4 separate regions of the Homo sapiens genome follow, and regions 1, 2 and 4 are each linked to region 3. Evidence: promoter capture Hi-C in human tissues and cell types (Jung and others, 2019). All regions are on one chromosome and are shown on one strand. The core of a region is centred on a gene start or on the middle of the fragment in contact, and the rest is flanking DNA. Distances in the headings are between cores, read along the strand shown. Region 1 holds the start of COPZ2 (coat protein complex I subunit zeta 2). Region 2 holds the start of CALCOCO2 (calcium binding and coiled-coil domain 2). Region 3 holds the start of SKAP1 (src kinase associated phosphoprotein 1). Region 4 overlaps CBX1 (chromobox 1).

Region 1 (6,628 bases), core at 21-2,520, 390 kb before region 3:
AACTTGTGTGGGGGTTTGGGGACTAAGACTCCTGGGTCCCAGGCTCAACACTCCACTGACCCATTAGGCAGAACCTTCCCATGCCCAGGTCCAACTGGCCAGTAGCAGGATGATAAGGAAACATTTCAGGGAACATGAGTAGAAATAGAGGAGACCCCTCATTTCAGGGAGCAGCACCTTGACAAGGCAGGAGGATGAGAAGGACCTCTGGAGGGGTCTAAGCTGAGCTGCCCTGAGTCACAGAGATCACAGTGGAGTTTCTCCTGAGACAGGAGTGTCAGCTGAGTGGGAACTGTGTCCCTCATGGGTGGGGTCAGAGGTTACCTTGGCCAGCAGCCGGCGCCCGTCATTATCTAGGATGAAAACAGCCTTGATGGTGTAGAGGGAAGGTTCCTGCAACTGACACCGGAGAGGAGAGTTCCGTTTGGCCCCTGACTCGAGGTGGACACCCTGTGTCTATGGGATCTGCTGGCCCTAGGATACATCCTCAGGCCCCAGCAACCCCAGTCCTCAAGGTCCACAGCTGGTTCTGCCCAGCCCTGTGCCACATGGGCCAACCCAGGTGCCCACTCCACTCCCAGGCAGATGTTCCACTGCAGGCCCCGAGTGGGCGCTGTGCCCGTTGGGTGCAGAAGGTCCTTCCGGGCCCAAGTTCTGTCATGCACTGACTGCTCCAGAGCCCGAGTCGGAGTGTATCACAGAACCTGGGCCGGGGGGGACAGCGGGCCGAGCCTCCTTCTTCCAGCTGATCCCTGGCCGGGCTGGACCTGCGCTATCAGCGCGCCCCCAGGCCCTGGCCCGGGTAGACTCCAGAAGCATGCCCATCACCCACCGGTGATGGGAGCCGAGTCTGGGACGGACAGGCCACTCCTTACCCTCCCCGCGGAATCGCAACTCACCCGCCACCCCCACTCCAAACGGACCCAGAACTTCAGCCCCGCGCCGACGGACTCAGGACAGGCCTCCTCTCCGGTCGGCGCTGGGACGAACTTTTCCTCCCGGGTCCTGGGGCCAGTCAGGGGTGACACAAAGTTCCCAGCCGCCGGGCGCGCGAGTTCTGAGTTGGCTGCTCCCCCTAACCCTGCTCTGTCCCTGCCCAGCTCCCGCCGCCCGGGATCCCCGCGCCCGCCCGCTCCGTACCCGCAGCCCCGAGGGCTCCCCGGCTCGAGCAGGCGGCGCCGGGCCCCCGGCCTGGGCCGCCGCGGCCCCCTCCCCCGGGTGCGGACGTGGCCAGGCCTCGGGCCGCTGCATTCCGCTCGCCGCCTCGCACTGACAGCGCCGCCCGCCGCCTGCCCGCCGCCGCCGCCCCGCCTCCGCGCCGCCCCGCGGCCCCCTCTCGCGCGTGGCCTCCCTTTCCTCGGGGCCCCGTCCTCTTGCTCGTTCTCCCCCATCTCCCCTCCCGCCCTCACCCCACCTCTCCTTCCCCCACTTCTCCTCTCCCTCTCTCCTCCTTGGCTCCTTCCCGAGTCCCTTACATCCCCGAACTCTGCATCCTCAGGGTGCCCCAAGACCAGCCCTCGTCCTGCTTCCTGCCTGCTCTCCGGCCTGTGGCTTTGGTGTGCGCCAGTGTCTATAGGCTGTCCTGGGGCCAGCAGCAAACACAAGCAAAGCCCACTTTTGTCTGTTGACCTCTGGTAGGTACCATGAGGACAAATACGTCAGGTCACCCTTTAGATCTCAGGGACAGGGTCTATAAGCAAGAGCAAATGAGGACAGTTCTGGGGACACCCCTCTGTGAAGAGGCTTTCTCATTCCTCTCTCACTACTTGCAGAAGGCAACCATGGGCCCGGAGACACCTCCCCAGGCTCTCCTAAGTCACAGATATGGCACCATCAGAAGCAAGACAGACGCCCAGCAGCACAAATGCTCCACCAATGACATCGGGCTTTGCAGCATGTTTTGGTTTCTTTGGTCTAAGTCTAACTAAGACAAGCTCTCATTTCAGGGTACACTGGCAAGTGGGAAATTCACATCCCAGTGATATGTTAGTGCTACGTATGCATTTACCGGTAAAAACACTGTGCGTGTATTTTACATTTGACACCTTCACATCCATTATCTAATATAGCCCACACCTGTAAGATAGGCATAATGGACCCTCATTTTAAGCAAAGAGAGACTCAGAGGTTGTGTGACCTTTTCAAGACTATACAGCTAGTTGACTGGGGATAGAACCCAGATTTTTGACTCAAAATTTCTTCCCTATTCTTCTCTTCAAGCCCTCTTATGTTGTGGACCACAGTCACTTACCCTAGATGGTTACAGAATGGGGTTTTCCTCACTGAATGCATCAAGTCTTCTTATCTTCAAGCCTCTGCTGAAATATAATTACCAAAAGGTCCTCCTGACAGCCACCATATCTGACTTGATAGGTCTCTCCTGTCACATTCTCTCAGTTCCTATTTCTTTCTTTCATTGCACTTTTTTCAATCTCTAAATATTATTTTTACTAATATTGCTTGTTTGAGACACGGTCTCACTCTGTTGCCCAGGCTGGAGTGCAGTGACTCGATCTGGGCTCACTGCAGCCTCAACCTCCTGGGCTCAGGCAATCCTCCCATCTCAGTCTCCCGAGTAGCTGGGACCACTGGTGCATGCAACCACTCCCAGGTAATTTTTTATTTTTTTATTTTTTTTATTTTTGTAGAAACAAGGTCTCAAGTCTGGGCTCAATGGCTCACATCTGTAATCCCAGCACTTTGGGAGGCTGAGGTGGGCAGAAGGCTTGAGCCCAGGAGTTCCAGACCAGCCTGGGCAACATGGTAAGATCTAGTCTCTACTAAAACTACAAAGAAATTAGCCAGGTAGGGTGGTGTGACCTGTAGTCCCAGCTACTCAGAAGGCTGAGGTGGGAGAATCACCCGAGTCTGGGGGTTCAAGGCTGCAGAGCCATGATCATGCCACTGTGCTCCAGCCTGGGCAATGGGAGTGAGAATCTGTTTCAAAAAAAAAAAAAAGAAGAAGAAGAAGAAGAGAAAAAGAAAGGAAGAGGAGGAGGAGGGGGAGGAGGGTGATCATGATCAAGGTCTCACTATGTTGCCCAGGCTGGTCTTGAACGCCTAGGCTCAAGTGATCCTCCCACCTCAGCCTCCCAAAGTGTTGGGATACAGGCGTGAACCACCATTCCCAGCCTTTACTAGTTTGTTTATAAGTGTTCCTTCTCCCCGCCCAGACTTTGAGCCCTGCAAGAACCAATGAATGTGACTTTTTGTTTGTTTGTTTTTTTGTTTTGAGACAGGGTCTTGCTCTATCACCCAGGCTGGAGTACAGTGGTGTGATCATAGTTCACCGCAGCCTCAAATTCCCAGTGTCGGCCGGGCACGGTGGCTCACGCCTGTAATTCCAGCTCTTTGGAAGGCCGAGACAGGCGGATCACGAGGTCAGGAGTTTGAGACCAGCCTGGCCAACATGGTGAAACCCCATCTCTACTAAAAATACAAAAAAATTAGCCGGGGGTGGTGGCAGGTGCCTGTAATCCCAGCTACTCGGGAGGCTGAGGCAGGAGAATCACTTGAACCTGGGAGGTGGAGGTTGCAGTGACCCGAGACCGCACTACAGCACTCCAGCCTGGCCAAGAGAGCGAGAACCTGCTACCCACCCACCCACCCACACACACACACACACACAAACAACTCCCAGGATCAAGCCATTCTCCTGTCTCAGTCTCCTGAGTAGGTGGGACGATACACACGTGCCACCATGCCTGGTTATTTATTATTATTTTTTTTAAAGGCAGGGTCTTGCTGTGTTGTCCAGGCAGGTCTTGAACTCCTGGGATCAAGCCCTCCTCCTGCCTCGGCCTCCCAAAGCCCTGAGATTACAGGTGTGACCCACCTCACCTGGCCAATTATGTTTGTCTTGTTCACTGTGGAATCCCTAGTGTTTCTTACAAGGCTTGGTGACAGATTTTTTTTTTTTTTTTTTGAGACGGAGTCTTGCTCCGTCACCAGGCTGGAGTGCAGTGGCGAGATCTCGGCTCACTGCAACCTCCGCCTCACGGGTTCCAGTGATTCTCCTGCCTCAGCCTCCCGAGTAGTTGGGACTACAGGTGCACACCACCACGCCCAGCTAATTTTTGTATTTTTAGTAGAGACAGGGTTTCACCATGTTGGCCAGGATGGTCTCGATCTCTTGACCTTGTGATCTGCTTGCCTCGGCCTCCCAAAGTGCTGGGATTACAGGCATGAGCCACTGCACCTGGCCGATGACAGATATTTAATAAGCATTTGTGAAGTAAATGAATAAAGGAATTCAGGATGAGGGAGATCATGTATAAATATTCACAAATACCAAATTTTAACTAATAATAATTAAAATGTACCTATCAATGATACCATATTGGCTGGGTGTGGTGGCTCATACCTGTAATCCCAGCACTTTGAGAGGCCAAGGCGGGCAGATCACTTGAGACCAGGAGTTCGAGACCAGCCTGGCCAACATGGTGAAACCCTGATTCTACTAAAAACACACAAAAATCAGCCAGGCATGGTGGCGAGTGCCTGTAGTCCCAGCTACTTGGGAGGTGAAGGCAGGAGAATCATTTGCACCCAGGAGGCAGAGGCTGTAGTGAGCCAAGATCACACCACTGCAGCCTCAGCAACAGAGCAAGACTCTATCTCCAAAAAAAAAAAAAAAAAAAAGACAACATATTTTATGTGCTGTACAAATATTTATTGAGTGCTTAGTATGTACCAGATATTTTTCTAGCCACTGGGACACAATAGTAGACAAAAGAAAAATTTTGCTCTCATGGAACTTACAATCAAGTGTTTGTGTATGTACATGCGTGCGTTTCTGTGCAAGATATAATACACAAATAAATGGGAAAAGTAGATATTATATGAGTTGGGGATAAGTGCTGCAAAGAAAAATAGAGCAGAAATGGGATGTGGAATGTGAGGGGTAAGGGACAGGCAAGCCAGAAAGCCATTTTCATAGTCCTCTGAGAAAACCTTTAACAAGGTGACATTTGAACAAAGAGCTAAAGGAAAGGAGGAAGCAGGCCATGCAGACATCTGAGGAAGCATCTACTGACCCTCCCTATATGATGACTTAGAAGGCACATCTGAACCTTTCTTGCAGGCTATCAGTTATAATAGGGAACATAATGACACTATTTGATAACAGCAGCCAGGGAAAAGACCCAGCATTTGGGCATTTTATTTCTTCGGATTCCAGATCATCAGAAGTTATGTCAATGGTCATGCTGGCTGGGTATGTTATTTCTAAAAAATACTGATTTGGTTATTTTGATGTCTTAATATTTCTGTGAGCTAGTCCATTTTTTTTTTTTTTTTGGCTCATATTTACAAGGACAGCACCAAAAAGCCTCCAGGAGCATTTCTCAGCCTCTGTTTGGCTATGGTACCCACTATGAAAGACCAGCAGCCTCCAGAAGGGACAGAGGAAGACCTGGGAAGATAGGGGACTTAGGGGGCTGGCTCCATAGGGGAGGTGGGGAAGGAGTCAGTTATACACGTTAGGGATGGGAAGGCACTGGAGAGGGGCCAAGGGGATAGGAATGAGAGAAGGCTGGGGAAGGAAGCTTAGGAACCACAAAGTTCTCATCACCCCCACATCTATCACTGTTGTTGCTTTTTCTTTTTCTTTTTTTCTTTTTTTTGAGAAGGAGTTTCACTCTTGTTGCCCAGGCTGGAGTGCAATGGGGTGATATTGGCTCACTGCAATCTCCGCCTCCCAGGTTCAGGCGATTCTCCTGTCTCAGTCTCCTGAGTAGCTGGGATTACAGGTATGCGCCACCACACCCAGCTAATTTTTTTTATTTTTAGTAGAGACAGGGTTTCACTATGTTGTTTGGCTGGTCTTGAACTCCTGACCTCAGGTGATCCGCCTGCCTTGGCCTCCCAAAGTGCTGGGATTACAGGCGTGAACCACCGCGCCTGGCCTTGTTGTTCCTCTTCTTAAAATCTCTTTACATCTTTTCTTTTTTTTGAAATGGAGTCTCACTCTGTCGCCCAGGCTGGAGTGCAGTAGCACGATCTCGGCTCACTGCAACCTCTGCCTCCCGGGTTCAAGCAATTCTCCTGCCTCAGCCTCCCAAGTAGCAGGGATTACAGGTGCGTGCCACCATGCCCGGCTAATTTTTGTATTTTTAGTAGAGACGGGGTTTCACCATGTTAGCCAGGTTGTTCTCCAACTCCTGACCTTAAGTGATCTGCCCACCTTGGCCTCCCAAAGTGCTGGGATTATAGGCGTAAGCCACCGTGCCTGGCCCATAAAATCTCTTTACATCTTAGTTTAGTGGTGAATAAGTAAATTCAGAGCCAAGTTCAACTTTTCAAGGACAAGATTCTCCCCAATGATAACCCCTCCCCAAACTCCTTCAACAGAGACCCCAGAACTTCTTTCTCTCCATGACAACCGCTTCCCCACACATCCTGAAGTGCACCTTTAATGCAGTTTCACATAAACATGTGAGCTATGTGTGTCCAGTATTGGGACAGTGTCTTCCACAGAGCATGGCCCTAAGAGGACTTTCCAGTTTAAGGCTGGCAGCACATGAGAAGCATGCACGTGCAGCAGCAGACTCGGCAGGAGAGCCTCCCCAGCTCGAGGAAGCCAAGTTGGGTTCAAAAAGAATGCAGCCTTCATGTTTCTCTGCCCTCT
Region 2 (6,995 bases), core at 1,002-3,501, 400 kb after region 3:
CTTCATTTTTAATTTACTGAAATAGTTATCATGTTAATGTAGACAATAAGCTGTGTGGGTGCAGATGGTTTTCATTCTCAGTGCTTTTAGAAAATCTAATAAGTAAAATTAAGGGAAATGTATCCAGGATACTGAGGGCACTTGTCCCTGCAGACCGAGTTTAAAATGGAAGATATTATTTTGGTAACTCAGAAGGTGATTTGAACTTTAGACGGATGACCCACTTCCTGGCTTACTCATCATTTCCCACCATCCGTTCATCTCAGTTGAATGCCACCAGTCTTGTGAGGAAGCAGATTAGGAATGCTCATTCCCGCTGGGTGTGGTGGCTCATGCCTGTAATCCCAGCACTTTGGAAGGCTGAGGCTGGTGGATCACAAGGTCAGGAATTCAAGACCAGCCTGGCCAATATGGTGAAACCCCGTCTTTACTGAAAATACAAAAATTAGCCGGGCGTGGTGGCGGGCGCCTGTAGTCCCAGCTACTCAGGAGGCTGAGGCAGGAGAATCATTTGAACCCGGGAGGTGGAGGTTGCAGTGAGCCCAGATCATGCCACTGCACTCCAGCCTAGGCGACAGGGCAAGACTCTGTCTCGACAAAAAAAAAAAAAAAAAAAGGAATGCTCATTCCCCTGCCTGAGATGGCACAGAAAAATTTCTTTCCACATTTAAACAGTGGAAGAAGGGGCACTTCCAAATTTAATCTTTCATAGACAGCATATACAGCATTTAACATCTTCTGGATGTTAAAGAAAAAAATATTCTGAAACTTGTTAAAATGGCAAGGAAGAATTTATTCAGGACCAAAGGGGAGATTATGCTGCACTCTGAATACAATAATGACAAGTGGGATTTATAGCCAACAAGCAGAGTGAGGGGTCACTGCATGGAAAATTACTAAAAGGAGATTCTTGTTAAACCAACTTAACAGGACTCTTGTTGAAGGCAGGCCAGGGTTATTAGATATTAAGGATGGGGGATTTTCTTTAAATTGACTTAGCAGAATTCTTTTCTTACTGAGTTTATTCTTTTTTTTTTTTTTTTTTTTTTTTTTTGAGACAGGGTCTCGCTCTGTCTCCCAGACTGGAGTGCAGTGGTGTGATCATGGCTTATGGCAGCCTCCACCTCCCAGGCTCAAGTGATCCTACCACCTCAGCCTCCTGAGTAGCTGGGACTACAGGGGCCCACCGCCACACCCGGCTAATTTTTTTATTTTTTGTGGAGACAGGGTCTCCCTATCTTGTCCAGGATGATCTGAAATTTCTGGGCTCAAGAGATCTCCCACCTCGGCCACCCAAAATGTTGGGATTACAGGCGTGAGCTACTGTGCCTGGCCATGAGTTTATTCTCTTTTTTCTTTTTGAGACGGAGTTCAAGGCCAGCCTGGCCAACATGGTGAAACCCCGTCTCTACTAAAAATACAAAAAAATGAGCCGGGCATGGTGGCGGGTGCCTGTAATCCCAGCTACTGGGGAGGCTGAGGCACGAGAATAGCTTGAACTCAGGAGGCAGAGGTTGCACTGAGCCGAGATCGCCCCGCTGCACACCAGCCTGGGCAACAGAGTGAGACCTTGTCTCAAAAAAAATAAAGACTCTTCGTGAAGTAGTGTTAAGTGGACCCAGGAGAAAAATGAAGATGACCTCTTAATGGCCCTTCAAATGTATAAAGCTTTCTCATTCAGGGAAGAAAGACATAAAGATGTAGCCCAGGCGCGATGACTCAGGTCTGTAATCCCAACACTTTGGGAGGCCGAGGCAGCTGGACCTCTTGAGCCCAGGAGTTCAAGACCAGCCTAGGCAACATGGCAAAACCCCATCTCTACTAAAAATACAAAAATTAGCCTGGCGTGGTGGCGGGCGCCGTATGGGCACCGTGGTTGTCCCAGCTACTCAGGAGGCTGAAGTGGGAGGATCACCTGAGCCCGGGAGGTCGGGGCTGCAGTAAGCCGTGTTCGCACCATGGCACTCTAGCCTGGACGACAGAAAAAGAAAAAAGAAATAAAGGTATAAAAGAAAAAAAAGAAAAGTAAACAGCTTCTTCCAGGGGATGAAGTAGGTTTATTTCGGTGAGATTGCTGCTCAGGACTTAGGAGAGCCATCAAAGGCAGAAGACCGCTCCTGGGGCCCGGTCACCTGAACACTACAAGTCCCAGCAAGCGCCGCGCGGGGGCGGGGCTTGCTGACCGTTGTGACGTGTGGGCGGGGCAGGCGGGACGGGCTCTCCCTTGGGTGCTTAGCCCCGCCCCCGTCCCACTCTGCCCTGTTGCTGTCGCGCCGCTGCTGGTTGCTGTCCCTGGTGAGTGCCTCAAGTGGAAAGGGGCAGTTAGGCCCTCGGGGTGCCCACATTCAGACTTGCAGTCCTGAGAAGGGGCCACGGGGGTAGAGGTGTGGCAAGTTTCGGTTCTCACCGCAGTTCACCCTCTGGGGTGATAGTGGGAGTGGTGTTCTGAAGGCCCTGGAGCCCCTCCCGCGGCCCGGGAGGGTTGCGGGGCAGTTTTGTCTTGCGGAGGGCAGCGCTGCAGTGCTGTGTGGCAGGGTGGGAGGCTCCTCGGGAAGAAGTGACACCCCTGGCGGCGGCGAGGGTCTTGAGGCGGCGGCTGCCGCCCCACGGGTCGTGGCGTCCCGTCCCCTCCCGCGGGCCCAGGCTGTGGTGGTTCCGTAATCCCTCGCCTGGATGTCATCGCCGTTGGCTTCGAGGCGGAGGTGGAGCCTTGTTGCGTCACCCTGAGCAAGTTACTTTCTTTTTGGGCCTCAGTGTCCCCCTTTACGAGTAGGTTTGATCCCTGAAGCGCCTTGCCTTTTGCATGCTGCAGCTGTCGGAGAAGACGTTCTAGGCAGGAGGAAAGACGGTGTCGTGACCTGCCTCTACAGTTAATCCATTGCCCCTCCACCACTGACCCAGCTTAGTTTGGGAGCTAATGTTCCCACTCGTATATTATTTCAACCCCACTGGACGTGTTAACTCTTTTCTATCACTTGGATTCTTGCTTCACATGCAAGCCAACAAGTGACCATGGTTGGAGCTGAGTAAAATATGGATAATATAACTTATTCTATTATTGGAAACACCATTGCAAGTAAAGGACTTTATGTGGTAGGTCTTTGTAGCTTGTGGAGAATACATGATTAAGGAATATCCAGATGGCTCAGTTTCCCAGGTATTTTCAAGGGACCTGGAAACTCTATCCTTTGGCAGACATGACAGCTGTGGAATGGAAAGGGCCTTGAAAAAGGTAGTCGATAATCCTGAGTTACCTGGCACTAACAGGTCATATTGTCTTTCGAGTCAGATAGTACATCTGTGGCTCTTTAAAAATTTAATTTGGCTGACTAGGCGCGGTGGCTCACGCCTGTAATCTCAGCACTTTGGGAGGCCCAGGCGGGCAGAATCACCTGAGGTCAGGAGTTCAAGACCAGCTTGGCAAACATAGCAAAACGCTGTCTTTACTAAAAATACAAAAATTAGTGGAGCGTGGTGGCGGGCGCCTGTAATCCCAGCTACTTGGGAGGCTGAGGCAGGAGAATCGCTTGGACCCAGACAGCGGAGGGTGCGGTGAGCCGAGATGGCGCCACTGCACTCCAGCCTGGGCAACAGAGTGAGACTCCGTCTCAAAAAACAAACAAACAAAAATTTAATTTGGCAGTATGTATTGATAGAATGTCATGTATCCTTAATTATTTTTAGATGAAAAGAGAGTTAAATGAACTCTTTCACTTCTTTTTTCCTTCACTTAGGATCATCATTATATCAGGCAAGGTCCTTGAAGATTTTCTAGCCTTAGCCATGCATTTTGCTGATGAGGAAACAGGCCAGAAAAGGGTACTGTGACTTGGCCAAGCTCTCAGAGTGGCAGAACTAAGATAGGAACCCAGCTCCCTTGGCTGTTAGCCTAGTCCCCTTTCCACCACACTTCAAACACTGTCACTGCCCATGTCACAGGGACATGGCATGTTAGAATCACCCCTGTCAAGGGAAAAGTGGATGGTCTCAGTAAAATGGAGATTAGTACACAGCTTTGAGCCTTTCAGAGTTTCCAGTTGCCCGCACCTGATGTCCCAGAACTATTTTTTCCATCTTCCCCTAGAACTGGCGCCAGCACTATGGTGGTGTGGATGTGAGATGAGGGCCTGTTTAGAAAAAGCTGGACAGCAAATTCAAACAATTGTTAATGAGTAGTAATAAAGGCCTCCTGGGGTGTAAAATTTTTGTAAGACACTCTGAAACATTTTCATATTTTAGGTAAGGGTCTAGAATTAACTTGGAAATTTTGGGCTAGAGCAAATGGCTCGATAATTTGAAGACCAGTGATTGTGTCTTTGCTTTTGCTACCTGTTTCAGGGCCATCTACACACACCCATAGTATCCACTGCTGGTATTCTTTAAGGCTGGTTATGTGTAAGCATTTCTGCCATAGCCAGGGAGAAACGGGATTCAAATCAATTCATCCATTTTTGCTAATTGCTAATCGTTTAGAAAGAAAAGTAAGCAGAAGGCCGGGCACAGTGGCTCACGCCTGTAATCCCAGCACTTTGGGAGGCCAAGGTGGGTGGATCACGAGGTCAGGAGTTAGAGACCAACTTGGCCAACATAGTGAAACCCCGTCTCTACTAAAAATACAAAAATTAACCGGACATGGTGGCACATGCATGTAGTCTTGGGAGGCTGAGGCAGGAGAATCACTTGAACCCAGGAGACAGAGGTTGTGGTGAGCTGAGATCACACCACTGCACTCCACCCTGGGCAACAGAGAGAGACTCTGTCTCAAAAAAAAAAAAAAAAGAAAGAAAAAAAGTAAGCAGAAAGATAAAGGAATCCAATTAAATTGGGTTTGACTTTTATCTTTGTTTTTACTGTTCTCAAATGAAGAATTGATTTGCATGTCTTTCTTGCCTGTAGAAGCATTTGATTTCCTTCTGTGAACTAATCTGTAGTCTTCATTTCTCTTGAAATATATGCCCACTGGTATAAAAAAGGCTAATGTAAACATGTTGGCCATTTAAAAAATTTTCTGCTAAAAAACCTATCAGTGTAGTTTGCAGATGCAGTTAGAAAGAGCAGAAGTAGGCTGGGCACGGTAGCTCATGCATGTAATCCCAGCACTTTGGGAGGCCGAGGCAGATGGATCGCCTGAGTCCAGGAGTTCAAGACCAGCCTGGGCAACATGGTGAAACCCTGTCTCTACAAAAATACAAAAATTAGCCAGGCACATGCCTAGGGTCCCAGCTACTCCAACTGAGGTGAGAGGATTGCTTGAGCCAGGGATGTCAAGGCTGCAGTGAGCCACATTCATGCCATTGCACTCCAGCCTGCAAGACCCTATGTCAAAAAAAAAAAAAAAAAAAAAAAAAGCAAGAGCAGAAGTAGAACAGGCTGCTGTTCCTTTTCTTCAGGAAGACATAAGAGGATCTATGTCCTCATGGAACAGCCCTGGGAGTAGTATATTAGGCTTGAAAAGCTCATTAGATGAAGATGTGTCAGGTTTTCTTGGAAGCTAGGAGACAGTTCAGGGGACTCATTTAAAAATACTTTCCCATTATTGCCTGCTCCTCTGAGGGCCCTAATCCTTTTGGAAACTGAGCTGAAAAAAGGTAATGACTATGTCAGAGGCCAAATAAAGTTGCCTCTGACAGTTTGTGGAATTTGTGCATTATTTTACCCATGCTTGATAGTTTTGTTTTTGAAAATCCCTATTTGTTTTCTCTGTTCATTCCTTATGTGGCCAATCTTTGATTTGAGGGTTGGAATAAGGAATTAGGTAAAATACCACTTTATAATTTCTAGGGGACCTAGCTCGTCCCACTAATTTTTCATAACTCAGCAGTTCTCTGGGCTTCTAAATTTAACTTTTGCTCTTATATTTCTTCTCTTTTCTTTACCTCTATGAATTGCTGCCAAGTTAGAAATGGATGGTAGACAGGTTCTATAGTGGGAAAGGTGGTTAAAGGAGGGGAAGTTGATGCTTAAGTCATTTTAATTTTCATGGGCCAGGTGTAGTGACTCACGCCTGTAATCCCAGCACTTTGGGAGGCCAATGCGGGAGGATTGCTTGAGTCCAGGAATTCAAGACCAGCCTGGGCAACATAGGGAGACCCTATCCCTACAAAAATACAAACATTAGGTGGGCATGGTGGCGCATACCTATAGTTCCAGCTACTTGGGAGGTTGAGGTGGAGGGTCACTTGAGCCTGGGAGGTTGAGGCTGCAGTGAGCCATGGCTGTGCCACTGTACTCCAGCCTGGGTGACAGAGTGAGACCCTGCCCCCCCGCAAAAAAAATAATTCTCTTTACATATCTTCCCTCCCCTGTCCACAAATACTCATTTCTAGACTACTTTGTCAGAAAGGTAATTTCCCAAGCCATTGTTGGAGCCCATTTCTCCCAGGAATTTTATCACTGGGAGGAAGGGAAGACTAAAGATTACTGACCTGAAAACTCAGTAGATGCCCTCCCTCCAGGAAAAGCTGGAATACTTCCTCACTGACCAAGTTCGGGTTGGCATGGTTATGTTCTAGTTTACTCATGGCCCTTTGTGTCCACAGCTTGGTAAAAAGGAGAGAAGAGAAGCCACTGCTGTTCTCATCTACTTGCCTCCTCAAACCCTTCCCCAGCCTTGGCAGAGGAGAATTTTAACCTTATTTCAAGAATGATTGAGTTCTCAATACCTCACATGCCATTGGATGCCCTCTGAGTCCCTTCTGGGAAGGTGATGAGATTTCTGAAATGGGAAACTCCATGGGGTCTTTTGCATTTTTGATAAGCAAGGAACCAAAGCTGTTCACTTTTCCAGACAGATTATTAGGTTTTCAGGTGAATGAAAATAGCTAGAATTTCCTTTGACTATACACTCAAGCCTCAGAACATGAGCTCTTTCGTGTTGTCTATATATGTGCTGTCCTTTCTTAAGCGTTCTGCTTATGAGCTAACTTAGATTGGTTGTTTTTCTTTTCTTTTCTTTTCTTTTCTTTTCTTTTCTTTTTTTTTGAGACAGAGTTTTT
Region 3 (6,919 bases), core at 707-3,206:
ATATATTTTAAAGACCTGAGCACCAACAGAGATTGTTAAGATACAGCAAGCTTGATACAGAAGTATGCGACATGCAATTAATCTCCATTCATACCCCGCTCTACTTGTCAGCAAACAAAGGTTCTGCTTTAGAAGGAGATCTGAAGACTTCAATTAAAAACAGTCAGCTAACAAGAAAATAATCTAAGCTAAAGGAAGGTGGCAGGTGCAGAAATGAGTTGTTTACCAAAGTGTCAGTTTTGAACAATGAAGAACTGCACATCAAAAATGCTGAAGGAATGGATTTCATTGCAAGCCTCTGAAAATAAAAAGGAATTTTCTACCAAGCCTAGACACAAAACTGAAGTATAGTTTAATAAGCTTATAAAATAGGTTTCCTCTCATCAAATGACAGATACCAATAAAAAGAATCAGTTTATATATTTCAATGCAAGGGCAGAGTTAAACTTTTTGCCACAGTCCCTTCTTTCCTAGAAACCAAAGACAATTACAGCCTTCCTTCACAAGCCTAATATTAAACCAACAACAGAGGGAAAGGCTGGATTGTTTCTTCTTAGACACCCAGATAATTCTCTTTTACCCTGCAAATAGTTTTCTACCCCCAAAATTTAGATTTATTCTGATCGTAAGTAAAACGGATTTTGGAAACCTCACCTCAAAAGAAATATCTAGCTGACAGCTTTTACATAGAAGCAATCCAGAATGGAAATAGTGCTACAGACAGAGACCAAAAGGACTTGCCAAATATTTGATTAGGAGGCATTTATACCGAGATAACAAGGTAATGGAGATATAAAACCAATTAAATTGAGAGAAACTGAAAAAAAATACTGCTTGCCAAAAATATGACCTGCCCAAAGCAGGCCGTCTGTTAAATATGTGTCAACTATGTCAACTTAGATGCCAAAAGGCTTAATTCTGAATAGTTTCCTCCTGGGAGCCTTATGCGACTGCAGATTCCAGGCCTCTGTCCTCCCTGGAAGGTTAGTTACAGGAAAGCAAGTAAAAGTGACTTCCACCACGAAACCCAGCAGATGAAACTGCCCGTTAGCAACGTCTCTTTGTGACATCTCTTTGGAGTGTTGGCAGTGTGTGTTGAGTGTTGACGGGGATGGCCGGAACTCTTTAAACCACCGCTTAGACACTGTAGTTGGAAGGTGAACACACCACAATGGGAGTTGGAAGGTGAACACACCACAATGGGGGCACTTCTAGAAAAGGAGGAAATCCCATACTGAGAATGAGCCTGCCTTGGGGTGGGTGAGACCCCTAGACGTCTGCAGGGTGATAAAGGGAGGGCTGGGGTTTTCGCACTGACAAAAACTCACGTCAACCACCTGGCCTTGGCCCATGGGGATCCCATGAGCCCCTCGCAGCCCCCTGGAGAGCCTCGGGGACCTCTAAGCAGGAAGGTTTGGGGTCTTCTGTGAGAGGTGAGGAAGTCGTGGCTGGGGAAGGAGGGGGACGGGAAACCCTACAGATGTAGGGCAGTCCTTTGGAGAAAGGGACAGGTCGGAGACCAGGCAAGGTGGCATGGGGGACCAAGAACCTGGCCTGAGGACTTTAGAAGCCGGGGAGGTGAAGTGGAGGCGTGGAGGTGCCTCAAGGCAAAAGAAGATGTGGGACTCCAGGGAGTGAAAGGGGCCCTGAGGTGAGAGGATGGAAAGCTGGCTCTAGGGAGTTGAGGGCTCTAGAAGCCTTAAGGTTCTAGAAGGAGGTGAGTGACGAAGCCGTAAAGAAAGCCTGGCCGTGGGAGGCCTGGTGTCCCCTTTCGGCCTTCGGCTCAGCACTGGAGGGGGCCTGCGCCAGGGCGTTACCTTCCAGGAGCCAACGGATCTCCTCAGGGAGGGCGGCGGCCTGCATTTGGCTGGGCGGGAGAGAGGCGGGACGGGGCGCGGGCCCTGGTCGGGAGGCGGACGGGCTGGAAGGCGACCCGGCTGCACCGCGAGGCACCTGTACCTCAGCCGCGGTCGCCGCCCGCCCAGCCCGGCCGCGGGGCGGGGCCGTGGGTCCCCGGGCGCGTCAGGAAGTGGCGCGGGCGGCAGGCGGGGACCGGAACGGGGCGCGGGGCGTGGGTGCACGTGGCGCTCACGCCGGAGCCCCACGGTAGAAGGATTGGGGGTGCCGGAAGCACCGCACCGTGCGAGGCCAAAGGTGCGCCCCTCCAGCACCCACCAAAACAAAAGACTTCACAAGGCTCAAAGGACCCACGGCTTTGGACACTCCATCCTAAGCACCGAACAGTTGACCTCACGGTGGCAGATTTGAAAGACCACGGGGTGCCTGAAGTAGGGTGCAGGGAGGCAGAATCCAAGGAAGAGATCCCCGTCAAGCATAGCACCCCTCAATTGCCGGTCCAGTTCACATCTCCATCCCCAGAAAAGAGGGCAAAACTTCGCTCTTTGGGAAGCCACAATGTTGAAAGGAAATGATTAATTCCCAATAAGCAATATAAGGACACCAACATTTGGGAGAATCGCGGCAGCGTGGCAGCAAGGGACACAGGAAACCAAACTGTGCTGTTCTCCCTCAGGATGGAAAGGCCCTGAGGAAAGGAAGGGGTAACACAGGGAGAAAGCTGAGGGAGAGGAGAACAGAGCCCTTTCCCTCCAGGAGCTGCGGAAGGGAGGAAAGTGAAGGACAAAATCACACGGTCTCATTCAAGGGACAGTTGGTGTCAGTGTCCTGGTTGTGACATGGTACTGTAATAGTGCCAGATGTTACCCTTGGGGGAAACTGGGTAAAGGTAGACAGAGTTCCTCTATTATTTCTGAAACTCTCTGTGAATCTATAATTCTCAAAATAAAGAGGTTTTTTAAGTACAATAGGTCAACTGCCATGAAAAAAGTATAAAGTGCTATGGTTGATAAAAGAAGGGAGCTGAATACCAGAAAAGGAGGGAAGAGGCCAGGCATTGTGGCTCACACCTGTAATCACAGCACTTTGGGAGGCTGAAGCAGGAGGATCACTTGAGCCCAGGAATCTGAGGTTACAGCCAACTATGATCACCCCAGTGTACCCCAGCCTGGGCAACAGAGCAAGACCCTGTCTCTTAAAAAAGAAAGAAAATAAAAAGAAGTGCCAGTGTGCATGTGAGTGTTTAAAGGTGCATGTGGTGTTTGAGATGGGCTCTGAAAAACACACCAGACTTTGAAGGGGCAGAGGACTTTCCAGGTGGAAGGACCAGAGTAAAGAAAGATGGAAGAGCCCTCACCAGCTTGAGGAATAGTTAGTAGCCCTCTTTTACTGGATGTTGTAGAAAGACTATGGTTGTCAAGATAAACTGCAGCTCTACTGTGAAGGGACTTGAAAGTCAGAATAGGAATGTTGAACTTAATTGAGAGGGCACTGGGGAGCCATTGACAATTTTTGAGATTGGGAATGACCTAACCAGAGCTCCGGGGTGGTATGTGGCCTCACACATCTCCACCTCTGCCTTTTTCCTTCTTTGTAAAAAATGGCATTTCTATTCTCAGACTCAACCTACAGAATATGTAGAAAAGATTAGGAGTGGTGGGAAAAGACACAGGGGGAAGTGGGTAAAATGGTTTTTACAACAGCCATAAGGGGAATAATGATGGACTCAATCTAGCAGACGGGGCAAGAGCAGTAAGAAGAAACCATCGAGAAGGATGAGTGTGATAAAAGTGCCTGCCTCCTTGTACTGTTTCCCATCCAGAGATACAGCCTCAAAGATGAGGGTGTGATCCTTTAAGGAGTACAGTGCATCCTGCCATCTGAAAAGCAGTGGTGCATTGGTTTCAGTGTCACATGACCCACCTACAAGCTGCAGTAAATTGGGGTGAGGGGACAGAGGCTGGCATGAGCCTCTCTGGGGTATCTGGCTCCTGCTCATCCTCCTTCCTGCCCTGAGAAAGTATAGTAATGGGTGGCTGGGCACAGTGGCTCACGCCTATAATCCCAGCACTTTGGGAGGCCAAGGCAGGCGGATCACGAGGTCAGGAGTTTGAGGTCAGCCTGACCAATATAGTGAAACCCCGTCTCTACTAATAATACAAAAATTAGCTGGGCATGGTGGTGCACGCCTGTAATCCCAGCTACTCGGGTGGCTGAGGCAGGAGAATCACATGAACCCGGGGGGCGGAGGTTGCAGTGAGCCGAGATCAGGCCATTGCACTCTAGCCTGGGTGACAGGGCAAGACTCCATCTCAAAAAAAAGAAAGAAAGAAAGAAAGAAAGTATAGCAATGGGCAGACTACCCCTTTCAGGCTTGGGATCAAGTACCAGGTACCCCCATGGCATTTTTACCAACTTCACCACTTCACCTATAAAATTGTAGCTGCTCTAGAATCATTTTGAAGTACTTATGAGGCATACTAAAAAGCAAGGAAAGATACATGGGAACTGTCTGTGCTATCATCTCAATTTTTTTTTGGTAAATCTAAACTGTTACACAAAAAATACAGCAAGGGCAGCAAAGTCTCCCCATATGTCAACCTAAACTTTGCCTTGCTTTCCTTCTTGGCAACAGAAGAAAATTTGATAACCTCCCCCTCTTCTTCAAGGATATGGTGTCACATACTAATATAAGCTACCAGCTAATGAATTGTTTGATAAAGAGCAGTAAACCCAGGTAATTGCACTTCTTTGCAGGCTTCACTGCCTGTCATAGCTTACTTACACCAAAAACTCACAGTGTACGTATTCTATATGCATCCTTCCTTACAAGAATCTCTGGGTTTTAGAGAGACAGGGGTAGAGGGAGGTGCACAGTCGGGTAGTATGTAGTGAGTGACTGGCAGATTCCAATACGGTATTGTCATGTTGCATCAAGGTTCCTCATTGCAGACAGAAATCTGCCTCCACACATGAACGCAGCCCTTCCTTAATCATCTGAGGACCCTGTTTCAGCAGTCAGCCCCACTCCTAATGACATTCTGTTAAATGGACAAATTCCTTTGAAGCCTTGTCCTTTTTTGAAATCCAATTTCGCAGGAAGCCAAATCTGATTGGGGGTAGCCATGGAAACCACATGGAGGAGTCTTAGAGGAGGTGAAGAGAGGCAAGGCAAAACGTGATAGTCACGAGTCCTTTACTGTTCTGTCAGAAATATCAAAGCAATCTGGAGAGGTTGGCAGTAGCTGAGTCCCTGCCTGGGTCCTGTTCTGTGTGGCTGGGTACTATGTGGCTGTCATGGAAGAAAGCAGCCAGCTGTCTCTGCACACAGGCAGGAGGACAGAACAGAATACACAAATCTCAGGTCTGTCTGCCTCCCTTTTCTTCCCGTCCCCCCCAGACCCAATTCCAGCAAGATCTTAGCATCCTCTTCTTAGCTGCCTGCCCCTTAAAGACAAACAACAAAAGAATGACAAGGTTAAAATACAAGGCCCTCACAGATAAGAGGTCCTTTGGAGCAGAGGCCATGAAATTAATCTGGAATTCCTTGTAATTAGATAAGATAAGGGGATCTAAAGAGATGTAGAACAGCCAGGAATGGAGTCCAGCAGCACAACATGCAGAAAACACACCGCCTTGTCCACCGGGACCCTTCACGCACTGTCAGCAGACAGAAGACACAGAAAATAGGGCCCATATTGGCCTCTGAGCTTCTTGGGAATGCTGTCTACATGTTCTCATGCCAGGTGGGCACTCGCTAAATAGGCATCTATGGGATGTCCAGAGGGACCAATCAGGAAGAAACAAAAGCATCTGGCACCCAGAATGGCATGCAGTGGGAACACAACTGCAAGCAAAGCAGGAGCTGGCTGGCACCGCTCTGCCCTGGCTGAAATGGGTCTGGAGAGGAAACTGCAGAGGGCAGGCTCTGAGGCTTTATTCTGAGCTGGTTATTGATCCCTGAATGCTGGGTCATGACATGTGGCGGAGCTGACGTCTGCCCTATGGATGTGCAGCCACTGCCTCTCAGCCTCTCGGTCCCAACCCCATCAACCGGGTTTATTGACTCTTTTATTGACAATGCTGGGGCCTAATGAGGCCAAGAGCTGCACACTTCATTAAGAGATGTGGAAGGAGAGATGATGCATCCTGTCGGTGCCAAGAACCAGGCTCACTGTATGTTTTGCAAGGCTCCAGAAACCAAGCATCATGCCACCTTGAAGGCAGAGGAGATGGACATAAGATGCTAACTTGGGCACGTTACTTCAGTGGCCTAAAAATGAAGTTTCCACGGCTTGCCAGAAGCCTTGTTCTTACCAATTAGCTAACTCTTCAACTTAGGAGGGTCCTGTTATACACACACTCACACAAATACACTTCCAATGGTCTCCCCTTCCAGCTCACACTCCTAGATTCTCTGCCTTAATACATACAACAAAATAAGCAGCTTCTCATATCACATCAGGAAACAATTCCATAAGCAGGTTCTCAGTGAGGTACAGGCTTGGAACAGTATGAGGGACTATATAAAAACTCAAAAGAATCTTCAAAGGGAGCAAATTCAAGATAAGGAACAGACCCAGCACTATACCCAGGGTCCCCCAGCTTACCAGGAGCTGTGCATTAGAATCAGGTACAAAGCTCTTGTAGAACTGAAAAATACCTAAGATAGATAGTTACAGCCTAGGGATCACTGAGCCACTCTACGAAGTCATCACTGTTGGCCCTCCTCCATCTAAATAGTAATGTTTCATTCCCAGCACTTTGGGAGGCCGAGGCAGGGGGATCACTTGAGGCAGGGGGATCACTTGAGGCAGGGAGTTGGAGACCAGCCTCGGCAACATAGTGAGACCCCTGTCTCTACAAAAAATTCAAAAATTTCAAAAATTAGCTGGGCATGGTGGCATAAGCCTGTAGTCCCAGCTACTCTTGAGGCTTAGGCAGGAGGATTGTTTGAGCCCAGGAGTTCGAGGTTGCCGTGCCACTGCACTCCAGCCTCGGCAACAAAGCTGAGACCCTGTCTGAAATAAATAAATAAATAGTAACATTTCTTTCTTTCTTC
Region 4 (7,011 bases), core at 1,401-3,900, 340 kb before region 3:
GCTCACTGAACCTCCGCCTCCAGAGTTCAAGCGATTCTCCTGCCTCAGCCTCCTGAGTAGCTGGGATTACAGGTGCGTGCCACCACACCCAGCTAATTTTTGTATTTTTAGTAGAGACAGGTCGCCATGTTGCTCAGCCTGGTCTCCAACTCCTGACCTCGTGATCCACCCGCCTCAGCCTCCCAAAGTGCTGGGATAACAGGCGTGAGCCACTGTGCCGGGCGCCAAGCTTCTGTTAAACTCCTGGCCTCACACAATTCTCTCGCTTTGGCCTCCCCAAGTGTTGGGATTACAGGCATGAACCATGGCGCCCTGCCTACTCATTTATTATTTACAATACTCCCGGCCGGGCATGGTGGCTCACGCCTGTAATCCCAGCACTTTGGGAGGCTGAGGTGGGTGGATCATGAGGTCAGGAGATCGAGACCATCCTGGCTAACATGGTGAAACCCCGTCTCTACTAAATGTACAAAAAATTAGCTGGGCGTGATGGCGGGCACCTGTAGTCCCAGCTACTTGGGAGGCTGAGGCAGGAGAATGGTGTGAACCCAGGAGACGGAGCTTGCAGTGAGCCGAGATCGCGCCACTGCACTCCAGCCTGGGCGACAGAGCGAGACTCCGTCTCACAAAAAAAAACAAAAAAAAACCAATACTCTCAAGAGTTACTAGTTGAAGCTAGTAACTGAGTTGACTGGACTACAAATAGGGGAGTATGGTTTTACAGTATGTACTCAAACCTCAGTTTGAGATCCTCAGTTGTCCTACTTAGCCAACTCGTATGGTTTATATCACAATATTGTAAACAAAGAAATCTAGCATTGCCATAATTTTTACCTAAACATTTGCTGAGTCTGCTACATTTGAAGATTCCTAGAAAAATAATACTTTACATTTGCATTATACTTTACAGTTTACAAAGTGCTACCACATTATCTCATTTAATCTTCAAAACCATCCTGTGAGATAAGCCATTCAGATGTTATCTCTGCCTCACAAATAGACCAAATTTAGATGAAATAGATCACCTAAGGTCACACAATTAAACGAAGCACTGCACTTCAGTAAGGCCATCTAGCAAGGCTAGGCTAAATGCCCTGTTGAACACATAAAACTAGCAGCTAGCCAAAAACCTACAGGGTAACATCCCTCCAGCCTGTATAAGGAAAGGACACAGAGGTCTCTTAAGATGACTCCTCCCTACAATTTGTCACTGGTAAATAAGAAAGTGACTGGTAATGATTTTTCTCAGAAAAGACCTTGAAAGGTATGGCTCTGTTAAAAAAAAAAAAACAATGATTTTTAATTGGTTTCTGGAATATGAAGGTATTCATTGTTTATTAAACCTGCAGACAGAAACAAAGCTGGGTTTTTAATGCCCCAGCAGTCTTTTGAGTCTTTTAAATTGACAAGTGCTACATAGTGTAGAATTTTTTAAGTTAAACATCTAGCAAGCAGACTAGAGAGAGAACTACTGAGAAAATGTCAATTTTAAGAAACCAGGCCAGGCGCGGTGGCTCACGCCTATAATCCCAGCACTCTGGGAGGCTGAGGAGGGCAGAATCACCTAAGGTCAGGAGTTCAAGAAAAACCTGGCCAACGTGGCGAAACCTCGTCTCTACTAAAAATACAAAAAAAATAGGCTGGTCACGGTGGCATGCACCTGTAGTCCCAGTTACTCGAGAGATTAAGGCATGAGAATTGCTTGAACTCAGGCGGCAGACATTGGCAGTGAGCCAAAATCACGCCACTGCACTCCAGCCTGGGTGACACAGCGAGACTCTGTCTCAATAAAAAACAAAACAAAACAAAAAAAACCCAAAACTTGTTTACAGTGTCCCAAGGAATCCAGGAACAGTGTAAATCTGAATCAAGAGTAATTAATTCATAGCTCAATTTTAAGAGAAAGAGTACTGTTGTGATTTTCCTCACCCACCCTCCACCCCTGCACTGAGGAGCTAGAAAATGTAAAGAAGCAACAATGCTACTTGACTGCAGAAGGCAGTAACATAACAGACACAAGCTTAGGCATTTCATTTTGGTTTGAAATAGTTTGTACTGTGAAAGGGTACGAGAAGGCTTCAAGAAGCCAGTATGGCCACAGCTCTTGGCTGCCACCATAAACATGAACTATGAAGTGCTATGCTAGGAACTTCCACGATTCTGATTTCTTGCCAGTTTGAAAAACCAAATTATAAATGTGAGGCCATGGTAACACCTACAGACCTAAGAAACTAAACCAGTAGGGTTTCTAGCTAAATGCCAAGGTGAGGCATTTAAAATGTTGGTCAGGGCTGGGCATGATGGCTCACACCTGTAATCCCAGCACTTTGGGAGGCTGAGGCAGGCAAATTACCTGAGATCAGGAGTTTGAGACCAGCCTGGCCAACATGGTGAAACCCTGTCTCTACTAAAAAATACAAAAATTAGCTGGGCGTGGTCGTGCACATCTGTAATCACAGCTACTTGGGAGCCTGAGGCAGGAGAATCACTTGACTTCAACCCAGAAGGCGGAGGCTGCCTTGAGCCTAGATCACACCACTGCACTCCAGCCTGGGCTATAGAGTGAGACTTCGTCTCAAAAAAAAGAAAACGAAAAAGAAAAAAACAATAAATAAACAAAAATGGCCGGGCGCGGTGGCTCACGCCTGTAATTCCAGCACTTTGGGAGGCAGAGGTGGGCAGATCACAAGGTCAGGAGATCAAGACCATCCTGGCTAACATGGTGAAACCCCATCTCTACTAAAAATACAAAAAATTAGCTGGGCGTGGTGGCGGGTGCCTGTAGTCCCAGCTACTCAGGAGGCTGAGGCAGGAGAATCAGTTGAACCTGGGAAGCAGAGGTTGCAGTGAGCCCAGATCGCACCATTGCACTCTAGCCTGGGCAACAGAGTAAGACGCCATCTCAAAAAAAAAAAAAGAAAAGAATTCAGAGGAAAGCGAACTCTGAGTCAAGAACCTTCACCTCTATGAGAATCAGAATCACCTATGGAGTTTAGAAATACAGATGCCTGCCTGGGTGTGATAGCTCACGCCTGTAATCCCACCACTTTGGGAGGCGAGGTGGGTGGATCACGAGGTCAGGAGTTGAGATCGGCCTGGCCAACATGGTGAAACCCCAGTCTCTACTAAAAATACAAAAATTAGCTGGGCGTGGTGGTGTGCACCTGTAATCCCAGCTACTCAGGAGGCTGAGGCAGGAGAATAGCTTGAACCCGGGAGGCGGAGGTTGCAGTAAGCCAAGATCATGCCATTGCACTCCAGCCTGGGCAACAGAGTGAGACTCCATCTCAAAAAAAATTTAAAAAAAGGCTGGGCGCAGTGGCTCATGCCTGTAACCCCAACACTTTGGGAGGTCAAGGCAGGCAGATCACTAGGTCATGAGATCGAGACCTTCCTGGCCAACATGGCAAAACCCTGTCTCTAGTAAAAACACAAAAATTGGCCGGGCATAGTGGCACACGCATGTAGTCCTAGCTACTTGGGAGGCTGAGGCAGGAGAATCACTTGAACCGGGGAATCAGAGGTTGCAGTGAGCTGAGATTGTACCACTGCACTCCAGAGCCTGGCAACAGAGCGAGACTCAGTCTCAAAAAAAAAAAAAAAAAAGAAAACAGAAAAAAGAAGAAATACAGATGCCTAGACCCCACTCCACAGCGAATACATGAGGAAGTGGTGTTTTTAAAGCAGTTAATTTTTTCTAATTAAAATCATATATTAACATTCAATTACAAAAATATATAACGTGGCCAGGCGCAGTGGCTCACGCCTGTAATCCCAGAACTTTGGAAGGCCAAGGCGGGCGGATCACAAGGTCAGGAGTTTGAGACCAGCCTGGCCAACATAGTGAAACCCCCATCTCTACTAAAAATACAAAAAATTACCTGGGCGTGGTGGCAGGCGCCTGTAATCCTAGCTACTTGGGAGGCAGAGGCAGAAGAATTGCTACAACCTGGGAGGTGGAGGTTACAGTGTGCCAAGATCGCGCCACTGCACTCCAGCCTGGGAGACAGTGTGAGCCTCCGTCTGAAAAAAAAAAAAAATTTATTTTTCTTGTTGCCAGGTGCGGTGGCTCACGCCTATAATCCCAGCACTTTGGGAGGTCGAGGTGGGTGGATCACGAGGTCAGGAGTTCGAGACCAGCCTGACCAACATGGTGAAACCCCATCTCTACTAAAAATACAAAAATTAGCCGGGCGTGGTGGCGCATGCCTGTAATCCCAGCTATTCAGGAGGCTGAGGCAGGAAAATCGCTTGAACCCGGGAGGCGGATGTTGCAGTGAGCCAAGATCACGCCACTGCACTCCAGCCTGGGCGACAAAGCGAGACTCCATCTCAAAATAAATAAATAAATAAATAAAAATTTCTTACTTTTGATTTTTTTAAAAAAATACTTAAAAATATGGACTGCTTCATGAATTTGTGTGTCGTCTTTGCATAGGGGCCATGCTAATCTTCTCTGTATCGTTCCAATTTTAGTACATGTGCTGCTTAAGCAAGCACCAGTTTACCATTTTATACAATGCAATGTATCTTTGACATTATTCCATAAAGATCTCCATCCCTAACAGCTGCCATAGTATTCCATTGTATGGTTTCCTTTATTATAATGAAGAATGCTGTTTTGACATTGGCAGCGAGCCAAAATCACACCACTGCACTCCAGCCTGGGCGACACAGCAAGACTGTCTCAATAAAACACAAAACAAAACAAAAAACCCCAAAACTTGTTTATAGTATCCCAAGGAATCCAGGAACAGCATAAATCTGAATCAAGAGTAATTAATTCATAGCTCAATTTTAAAAGCTGGCATCTGCATCTTTTTTTTTTTTTTTTGAGACAGAGTCTCACTCAGTCGCCCAGGCTGGAGTGCAGTGGTGTGATCTCGGCTCACTGAAAGCTCCACCTCCCAGGTTCACGCCATTCTCCTGCCTCAGCCTCCCCAGTAGCTGGGACTACATGTGCCTGCCACCACGCCCGGCTAATTTTTTTGTATTTTTAGTAGAGAGAGGGTTTCACTGTGTTAGCCAGGATGGTCTCTATCTCCTGACCTCGTGATCCGCCCATCTCGGCCTCCAACAGTGCTGGAATTACAGGCATGAGCCACCGCGCCTGGCCAGGCATCTGCATCTTTCAAAGCTCCACAGGTGATTTTGATGAACATTCTTGGATAAAAGCTACTGCTGTAAGAGGATTGGCAAAAACCATATTCCTCAAGTGAAATTACACACATTACTGCAGACATAAATCAGTTCTCGGGGCCCAGCACGGTGGCTCACGCCTGTAACCCCAGCACTTTGGGAGGCCGAGGTGGGCGGATCACCTGAGGTCAAGAGTTTGATACCAGCTTGACCTACATGGTGAGAGCCCATCCCTACTAAAAATACAAAATTAGCTGGGCGTGGTGGCACATATCTGTAATCCCAGCTACTCGGGAGGCTGAGGCAGGAGAATCACTTGAACCCGGGAGGTGGAGGTTGTAGTGGGCCGAGATCGTGTCACTGCACTCTAGCCTGGGCAACAAGAGTGAAACTCTGTCTCTAAATAAATAAATAAATGGCAAAAGGAATTTACCTTCCAAGGAGTAAAGAAAGGAAGTAAATTCTGGATACAAACAGAAAATTTTAACGAAATTTATTTGTGACTTTTTTTTTTTGAGATGGAGTCTGGCTCTGTCACCCAGGCTGGAGTGCAGTGGCATGATCTCGGCTCACTGCAACCTCCGCCTCCTGGGTTCAAGCAATTCTCCTGCCTCAGCCTTCCAGGGCGTGCACCACCACCCCTGGCTAATTTTTGTATTTTTAGTAGAGATGGAGTTTCATCATGTTGGCCAGGGTGGTCTCGATCTCGACCTCATGATCTGCCCACCTCAGCCTCCCAAAGTGCTGGGATTACAGGCACGAGTCACTGCGCCCGGCTATTTGTGACAAAAATTTTAAGATTTCTGATGACCTATGTAAGTACAAAAATCAGTTTTGGTAATCCACACAGTAAAGTTCCTTAAGAAACTTTGAAGATTGTGATTTCAACCTCAGTTTTTATTTACATGTATATATTTTTTTCTAGCCAATCACCCAATTAAATAAACAGTCTCAGAATTCATATAGCTTTTGCTGTACTCAAGACAAAAATATGGGAATCAGCTCTGATTCCTCATCCTCCATATCCAGTCTCTCACTAAATCCTGGTAATTTTATATCTTAAATATCTTCCAATTCATACTTTTTTCCAGCCCCACTGCTGCTGCTCTATTCGAAGCCACCATCATCTCTTGCAATGGGTAACTCCTGATCCAATTCATTTTCAACACTAGCCAGTGATTTCAAAATGAAAATCTATCTCTTCACATCATTATCTGTGGGCATTTGAGCTGAAGGCCCCTGCACCTACACCTATCAATCATCATTACCTTGCGCTTTGCCCAACTTTTCACTTAACCAATTTCCTTAGCTTAAATGTCACTTCCTTAGAATTCCTTCCCTAGAGCCCCAGACTGGGTTAACTCTGTATGAACATGCTCCTATTGTATTCATTCACATAACAATTATCTACTGGGCACCTATTACGTGTAAGGTGCTGGAAAAATGGGGTAGACAAGACAGACAAAATCCTTGATCTCTTAGACCTTATTATTCTAGTGCAGACAAGTGAGTGAGCACTATTGAGTGTGTGCACACATGTGTTTGCAAAGCATGGCACAGACAATAAACAAGAAAATATTACTGATAAATGTTACAAAGCAAATTTCTTTAGAATAACATTTAAACAGAAACCCGAACTACAAGGAGACAACTCAGCCAAAATAAGAAAAGCACTCCAAGGTTAGGGAATAGTTGGTTTGAAAGTCCTAAGGTGAGAATGAGCTTGCTTTATCTGAGGAAAAGAAACATGGCCAGGTGGAAAGACCTCGACTAGACTGAGGGAATGGGAGGCACGGAGAAGATGACAATTATTTTGCATATCACTTCTTACTTCATTCCTTTTTCCATCTAGTTCTTTTTACCATTCCATTT

What was found. The method cuts DNA at HindIII sites, captures the fragments that hold promoters and counts their contacts. A contact is called where the count stands out against the background at its distance.
Region 1: a contact is called between the fragment with the promoter of COPZ2 here and the fragment with the promoter of SKAP1 in region 3, in 1 of the 25 tissues and cell types used here (small bowel).
Region 2: the fragment with the promoter of CALCOCO2 here is called in contact with the fragment with the promoter of SKAP1 in region 3 in 1 of the 25 tissues and cell types used here (adrenal gland).
Region 4: a contact is called between a fragment that was not itself captured here and the fragment with the promoter of SKAP1 in region 3, in 1 of the 25 tissues and cell types used here (thymus).

Annotation. Positions count from the first base shown.
Region 1 is chr17:48,036,527-48,043,154 of GRCh38, forward strand. It overlaps COPZ2 (coat protein complex I subunit zeta 2), which reads right to left and starts at 1,271. Exons shown (of 9, transcript NM_016429.4): 1 at 1,141-1,271; 2 at 325-399. The coding sequence starts at 1,251. MIR152 (microRNA 152) reads right to left here and starts at 721; the gene lies at 635-721. RefSeq lists an enhancer at 2,388-2,437. The HindIII fragment of the contact is 11,602 bases long and covers 1-6,279 here.
Region 2 is chr17:48,828,784-48,835,778 of GRCh38, forward strand. It overlaps CALCOCO2 (calcium binding and coiled-coil domain 2), which reads left to right and starts at 2,252. Exons shown (of 13, transcript NM_005831.5): 1 at 2,252-2,295. RefSeq lists an enhancer at 2,256-3,137 and a silencer at 2,508-2,667. The HindIII fragment of the contact is 23,399 bases long and covers 1-6,995 here.
Region 3 is chr17:48,428,258-48,435,176 of GRCh38, forward strand. It overlaps SKAP1 (src kinase associated phosphoprotein 1), which reads right to left and starts at 1,957. Exons shown (of 13, transcript NM_003726.4): 1 at 1,818-1,957. The coding sequence starts at 1,863. RefSeq lists a silencer at 1,871-2,130. The HindIII fragment of the contact is 11,559 bases long and covers 206-6,919 here.
Region 4 is chr17:48,084,285-48,091,295 of GRCh38, forward strand. The region is part of intron 1 of CBX1 (chromobox 1); the gene reads right to left. It also overlaps the pseudogene RNU6-1201P. Among named protein-coding and RNA genes, the nearest start is that of CBX1, 14 kb to the right of the region's middle. The HindIII fragment of the contact is 8,049 bases long and covers 1-6,675 here.